Linked DNA regions of Homo sapiens: region 1 is linked to region 2. Evidence: promoter capture Hi-C in 16 types of primary human blood cells and fetal thymus (Javierre and others, 2016). All regions are on one chromosome and are shown on one strand. Each heading gives the region's core, a stretch centred on a gene start or on the middle of the fragment in contact. The rest is flanking DNA. Distances are from core to core; before and after follow the strand shown. Region 1 overlaps NHEJ1 (non-homologous end joining factor 1). Region 2 holds the start of CDK5R2 (cyclin dependent kinase 5 regulatory subunit 2).

The links. The method cuts DNA at HindIII sites, captures the fragments that hold promoters and counts their contacts. A CHiCAGO score of 5 or more calls a contact.
Region 1: a contact is called between a fragment that was not itself captured here and the fragment with the promoter of CDK5R2 in region 2, in 2 of 17 cell types (M1 macrophages and M0 macrophages). The highest score is 5.2, in M1 macrophages.

What each region holds. Positions count from the first base shown.
Region 1 is chr2:219,139,230-219,143,033 of GRCh38, forward strand. All of the region lies in intron 5 of NHEJ1 (non-homologous end joining factor 1), which reads right to left. Among named protein-coding and RNA genes, the nearest start is that of NHEJ1, 20 kb to the right of the region's middle. The HindIII fragment of the contact is 2,399 bases long and covers 272-2,670 here.
Region 2 is chr2:218,958,352-218,961,878 of GRCh38, forward strand. CDK5R2 (cyclin dependent kinase 5 regulatory subunit 2) reads left to right here and starts at 1,315. Exons shown (of 1, transcript NM_003936.5): 1 at 1,315-3,527. The coding sequence starts at 1,470. The coding sequence ends at 2,573. RefSeq lists a silencer at 1,298-1,567. The HindIII fragment of the contact is 8,518 bases long and covers 1-3,527 here.

The sequences.
Region 1 (3,804 bases), core at 221-2,720, 180 kb after region 2:
GGTGCATGCCACCATGTCCAGCTAATTTTTGTATTTTTAGTAGAGACGAAGTTTCACCATGTTGGCCAGGCTGGTCTTGAACTCTTAACCTCAGGTGATCTGCCCGCCTCAGCCTCCAAAAGTGCTGGGATTACAGGCATGAGCCACCCCACCTGGCCTTGGTCTTTGTCTCTTGGATCACTGGCTCTGGAGGAAACCAGGTCCTGTGAGTAGCCCTATGGACAGGCCACATAGCAAGAAATGGCACCTCCTGCCAACAGCCACATGAGAAAGCTTGGATATGAATTATCCGGATGTTACAATGACTGCGTTACCAGCTGACATATTGACTGCAACATCATGAGAGACACTGAGCCAGAATCACACCCACTAAGCTGCTCCCAGATTCCTGACCCTCAGAAACCATGCAAGATAATAAATGTGTTTTTGGTTTTTTGGGGTTTTTTGTTTTTGTTTTTGTTTTCTGAGACAGAGTCTCGCTCTTTCGCCCAGACTGGAGTGCAGTGGCACGATCTCGGCTCACTGCAAGCTCTGAGACCTCCCAGGTTCACGCCATTCTCCCGCCTCAGCCTCCCAAGTAGCTAGGACTACAGGCGCCTGCCACCACACCCGGCTAATTTTTTGTATTTTTATTAGAGACAGGGTTTCACCGTGTTAGCCAGGATGGTCTTGATTTCCTGACCTCATGATCCATCTGCCTTGGCCTCCCAAAGTGCTGCGATTACAGGCGTAAGCCACCGCACCCAGCCTGTTATTTTAAGCCATTAAATTTTGGGACAATTTGTTACACAGCAATGGATAACTAATACAGACTTTAAGGAAGTGAGGAAGTTGGCCACACAAATATCTGAAGAAAGAACATTCCAGGCAGAGGGAACAGCCAATGTAAAGGCCTAAAGGCAGTGTTAGAGTGTTAGAAAAACACTTAAGAGTGTTAGAAAAACAGCAAGAGGCCAGTGTGGCTGCAGTGGAGTGAATGAGGGAGGAAGTTGTAGGAGATGAGGTCAGAAAGGTAAGAGAGTTCTATAAGATCATATAGGGTTTTATAGGCCATGGTAAAGTCTTTGGATTTTACTCTATAAATGAAGTGTTAAGCCAGTGAAGGGCTTTGAGCAGAAGAATATCACGATGTGCCTTGCAACTTAATAAGATAGCTTTGTTGATAATAGGCCAGGAGGGGGTAGGAGTAGCTGCAGGATACAAATAAGGAGGCTTTTGCCATAATGCAGGTAGGAGATGATGGTGGCTCCAGTATGGTAGCAGCAGAGGTGAGATTACGGGCATAGTTTTAAGGTAAAGCCAACAGGATTTCCTGATGGACTTTGGCTGTAGGAAGTGAGAGGACAGCAGTCAGGATGACTCCAAGGTTTTTTCACCCAACTAAAAGTGAAAGAATGAACCTTCCATCAACTTAGATGGGAGGGGGTTGTTGGAAAAGTAAATCTGGGCATACGACTGGAAGTTCAATTTTGGACGTGTTGAATTTAAGATATTTTTTAAACTTCTTCATGAAAATGTTAAACAAGCAGTCTGGAGTTTCAGGGTAAGACCTACAGTGAAGAATAAATGTGAGATTCATCCACAAGGTGGTATTTAAAGATGTTATAGTGGAATGCCAGAGGAGCAGGCTGAAGATGTCAAAAGGATCAAATCATAAATGATCACGTGTGGCGTGCAAGGAGTTTGAACTTTATCCTGTAGGAAACCGGGAGCCACTAAAGGACTCTGAGCAAAAAGTGTCATAATCAAGTTTCAGTTTCAAAGACATCACTCTGACAAAACTACAAATTCAACTGCAGGGGAATAAGAACTGACCAGGAGACAAGTTAGGAGGCTGTTGCATGGTCAAGCCAAAAAAGGGACAGAAAGGCCAGGAACAGTGGCTCACACCTGTAATCCCAAAACTTTGGGAGGCCAAGGCAGGTGGATCACCTGAGGTCAGGAGTTCAAGACCAGCCTGGCCAACATGGTGAAACTCCATCTCTACAAAAAATACAAAAATTAGCTGGGCGTGGTGGCTCAAGCCTGTAGTCCCAGCTACTCAGGAGGCTGGGGCATGAGAATCTCTTGAACCCAGGAGGCAGAGGTTACAGTGAGCCGAGATTGTGCCACTGCACTCTAGCCTGGGCAACAGAGTGAGACTTGGTCTCAAAAAAAAAAAGCAGGGGGGGAGTGGGGGAAAAGGGAGAGAAAAATGGCTAATTTCAGACAACGGGAGGTAGAATAGAGAAGATAGGCAGATTCAAAAGACGGTCAATAAATTAGGCTTTGAAAGTAAGGACAAAGAGGAAAGTGAGTGACTCCCAAATTTCTAGCTTAGAAAACTGAATGGATGATGGTATAATTCCCCAAGATAAGGAATATAAGAGAAATAGTCTGGGGGAGTAGATAATTCATTTTGGACATGTTTAGGATGTGCTTTATGTGGGACATCCAGGTGGAAATGCCAAACATGCAGAAAGAAATATGGGCCTAAAACACAGTGGAGATATAAAATTGGTATTCAGCGATGTACCAACAATAGTTGACACTGGGGTCTAGATGAGATGACCCAGAGGAAGGAAAGTGAAGTCTCAGAGGATCAGGGACCTGATCCTGGGAAACACTAACCTTTAAGAGGCAGGCAGAAGACGGAGAGCCAGCCAAAGAAACCAATTAGAAGTGTGAACAAGCTTAACAAGATGGCAATTTTCAAGTTAAAGCATTGCCCATCTTCCCCAGGCGATATAAGCTCTAGCTTCGTAAGAGCAGCAGTGACTCTCTTCATAGTTTAAAGTATCTGCTCTAGAATCAGGCTGCAACCAGACAGGAGCTGAAGACAGTAACTAAAACTAGGCAGAATATAACAACCATGGCTGCACTTAGGATGCTAAGTCAAATCAATGTTAACTATAGCCCCCTAATTTCTTAGCTAAGGTATTATACTGAACAGATTAAGACTTATAAGGCATTCAGAATGCAGCAGTAAGAACGACTGCAGGGAAGAGAAGAGAAGAGAAGAGGAGAGAAGAGTAGAGAATTGCAAAATCTCCATCTCTGCTAAGGGACCCCTACCAAAGGAAGCCAACTTCAAGCAACTGCCCAGGTTTTGGTGTCAAGGGCTGATTCCTAGCCAGGGGTTGCCAGCTGTAGAGGGCGGGGCTCTATTTTGGGCTGCCTGCTGTCCCTGAGCCTGGCCGCGTCTGGTTTGAGCAGCATGCAGCCCCAGTGACTCACACACCCATGCAAACTGCCTGTGGCTCAGTGGCATGGCCTTGGAATGCCAGCCTTAGGCCAGCTCCCTCCTCACCCCATTACACTGGGATAAATAAATAAAGAGCCCGCCAGCAGCCACACAGCCTGATGGCAACCAGATGGAGAGAGCGAGGCATGGACAGGGCCAGGGGAAGGAACTCCCTCCAGTGGACTAGACTGAGAGTGGGCTCTGCCCAGTCATCCTAAACTTCCTTTTTCATATAGTTCCTACTGCCGTGTAACAACAGTCCCTAAGTCCCTGACTCTTCTTTCACTCCTAAAGATGCCTCTCAACCCCCAGTCCTACAAAATGCCCTATATAGGGTTCTTGGCCTCCATGAAGATCATGCCAACAGGCATCCCACCCAGGCTTGACTTGAGTCAATATTGTCAGTATCACCCTCTAGTTAGGCCACTATCAACTGGCTCCTTGGGTTCCCCAGAATTGAGAAATCAGAGGCTCTTAGACAGAGTGGAAAAACAAAAGGACCAAATAGGGAGAAGTAACCCCTGTTCAATTCTTATTTTCCCGAGCCTTAGTATCCTAGCCACCTGCCTGGCCTACTGTCC
Region 2 (3,527 bases), core at 65-2,564:
GGCAATCCTTAGAATTTACTGAAATACATAGGCAGGGGTTTGGCTCCACATGGAACCCATATGCACCTACAAGGTCCACTTACTTAAGAAGCCTGAAGGCTCTTGTGCTGGGGGAGCCACAGAGAGCAGGCTCCAAGAAGGGTGGACATGATCTAACAAGGCAGATAGAATAGGTCCAGAACTAGCTGTGCTCAAGACCTGCAGGTAAGGCCTGGGGAGTCCAAAATCCAGGGCAAAGGGCTGATGGGTACTCAGGAGGTAACAGACAGACCCAGAGAGAAGTGGACAGGACCCAGCCTAACAGCTTGCTCCTGGGAGTGGGGACAGCTGGAACCTTACCTGCAGGAAGCATTTAATGATGAAACCCACCTCAACCTGGACCCAGGGCTGGGCTGGAGGTTGGTCCAACCCTCTTGGGCTTCCGTCCACACAGGAGGCTCCGTTCACTATCCAAGACTGGGTAGACCAAGTGATCCAATTTCTAGCGTTTCCCCAGGGACCAACCTTATCCATCATCCACCCAAGTATGAGATCTGTGTGTGTTAGTGGGGACAACCAACCGAGAGGAGCTGCCCAGGGACCAGAGCCAAGGGTCTGCCCCACAGGCTCAGTTGCAGAGAATCAGGACGGCAAGCAGAAGCCTCAGGGGCATATTTGAGACCTTGCTGCTCCCCCTCTCCCCCTCAAGCTGGAACCCCCAAGAAGGCGGGTTGTGACCTGCAAGAAGGCTCTGCCAGGACTCCCAAACAGGCAGGGCAGAAATGTGCCTGCTGCAGCCCCCCTAGCGACCTGGGGGGTGGGGGGCGAGGTGGGGTCGCGAAGAGGAAACAGACCTGACAGTCACATTGGAGGAGCCAGTGCAACGCGACCCATCTGGGACCTGGGCATCCGGTGAGGGCACTCACTGCTCACACTGGCCCCCCACACAAATTCAAAGGCAGAGGGAAGGAGAGCTGTTCCCATGGTTTATCTGCTACCGCGACCCAGTGCATCAGAACAAGCTGGTCCAGGCCCTAGGATCCGGAGGAGGCAGGAGCAGCCACCACCCCTTCTCAACTCTGACCCTGAGGAGGCCACTCGAACGACGACCACCGCCTTCCCCTTCCTCCGCTCGGGGGAAGGGAAAAGACTCAGGGCGGAGGGTGGGGATTGGGGCGGGACTTGAAATTGAAGTGCGAGAGTCTATTGGTCATTGGAGCTGCCCATCAGGAGTGCAACTCGGGAGCGGATTGGCCGCGTGAGGCGGGGCACGGCGCGACGAAAAAAGGGGCCCAAGGGGTGGGGCTGACGCTGCAGCTGGCGCAGCTCAGGATTAGAGCAGCGGAGCCGCCTAGCAGCCACCTTCCCCCGCCAGTCCGCGCGCCCGGGCCGGGGCTAGGCCCCCCACCGCCGGGTCCCCCGGGGCTGCAGTAGCAGCGGCGCCGCCCGCGGCTCCCGCTGGGGCCTGGGCGCCGGCCCCGCTCTGCAGGATGGGCACAGTGCTGTCTCTTTCGCCTGCCTCCTCGGCCAAGGGCCGGAGGCCCGGCGGGCTGCCCGAGGAGAAGAAGAAGGCGCCGCCCGCGGGGGACGAGGCGCTGGGGGGCTACGGGGCGCCGCCAGTGGGCAAGGGCGGCAAAGGCGAGAGCCGACTCAAGCGGCCGTCCGTGCTCATCTCGGCGCTCACCTGGAAGCGCCTGGTGGCCGCGTCCGCCAAGAAGAAGAAAGGCAGCAAGAAGGTGACACCCAAGCCGGCATCCACGGGCCCCGACCCCCTGGTCCAGCAACGCAACCGCGAGAACCTTCTCCGCAAGGGCCGGGATCCCCCCGACGGCGGCGGCACCGCCAAGCCCCTGGCGGTGCCAGTGCCCACCGTGCCCGCGGCTGCCGCCACCTGCGAGCCACCGTCGGGGGGCAGCGCGGCCGCTCAGCCGCCGGGCTCGGGCGGGGGAAAGCCTCCGCCGCCGCCTCCCCCAGCCCCGCAGGTGGCGCCGCCGGTGCCTGGCGGCTCGCCGCGGCGGGTCATCGTGCAGGCGTCCACCGGCGAGCTGCTGCGCTGTCTGGGCGACTTCGTGTGCCGACGCTGCTATCGCCTCAAGGAGCTGAGCCCGGGCGAGCTGGTGGGCTGGTTCCGCGGTGTGGACCGCTCGCTGCTGCTGCAGGGCTGGCAAGACCAGGCCTTCATTACGCCTGCAAACCTGGTGTTCGTGTACCTGCTGTGCCGCGAGTCGCTGCGTGGGGACGAGCTGGCGTCGGCCGCCGAGCTGCAGGCCGCCTTCCTCACCTGCCTCTACCTCGCCTACTCCTACATGGGCAACGAGATCTCCTACCCACTCAAGCCCTTCCTCGTGGAGCCCGACAAGGAGCGCTTCTGGCAGCGCTGCCTGCGCCTCATCCAGCGGCTCAGCCCGCAGATGCTGCGGCTCAACGCCGACCCCCACTTCTTCACGCAGGTCTTTCAAGACCTCAAGAACGAGGGCGAGGCCGCCGCCAGCGGCGGGGGCCCACCGAGCGGGGGCGCGCCCGCCGCCTCCTCGGCCGCCAGGGACAGCTGCGCGGCCGGAACCAAGCACTGGACTATGAACCTGGACCGCTAGGGATACCCAGGGGCCGCGCCCATCCCCCGCCCCAGCCCCTGACACACACTCGGACCCCCCGGGACCACAAAGCCACCGCCGCTGTTACCGCCGCTCAGCGCCCCGGCTGGGCGGAGGAGGAGACGCCCATGCCCCTCAGGGGAAAGTGGAGACCGGGACACCAGAGGCCGCGGTGTTTGGATTTGCTGGGCGTGGAGTGGGGACGGAAGATGAGCGCGGGAAAGGCACTCCAACCTCACTCTTCCCGTCTGTCTGCGCCCCCATTTCTCCATTTCTGCCGGGGTCTCCCCCTTCCCTTCAGCCCATTCCCCCTCGGTTTTATCCATTTCCTTGCCTCCTTTTTGTGTCTTCATTTTTCCTCCTGTCTGCATTCCTCTCTCTCTCTCTCCCTCTCTCTCCTGTTCCTCTCTTTCTTCCTCCCTCTCCCTGCCTTTCCATTTTCCGTTCCTTGGGTTTGTGTGTCTGCATCTCCATCTTACCCCTTGCCTGACTGTACCCCGTAGACCCCTGTTTCTCCTCCTGCACCTGTGTCCCCATCTGCCCTTCTTGTTGCTCCTGTCATGTGTCACCATCTTCCCTCCTGTCTGCCTTCTTCCTCCACTTGTGTCAGCTTGCATTTTTTTATTCCTGACTGAGTCACCACACCCCTCTCCCCTGATCAAAGGGAATATTAGTTTTTAATTTGGATCGACTGAGGTGCCAGGAGAAACTGCAGTCCCAGGTATCCAGACAGCCACCAGGATGGTCCCTCGCCCCACCCCCACCGCCTCTCCCCACCTTTTCCAACGTGTTGCATGCTGGGAGCTGGGGGGTGTGGGGGAAGGGGCTGCCGGCTTCTTTCAGGAGGCTGAGGTTTGGAGGCAAAATCAACCTGGGAGACCACCCCGGCCGCGGCGCCTCAGTGGACAGGTGGGAGGAAAAGAAAACTTCTTACCTTGGAGGAGGGACATCCCG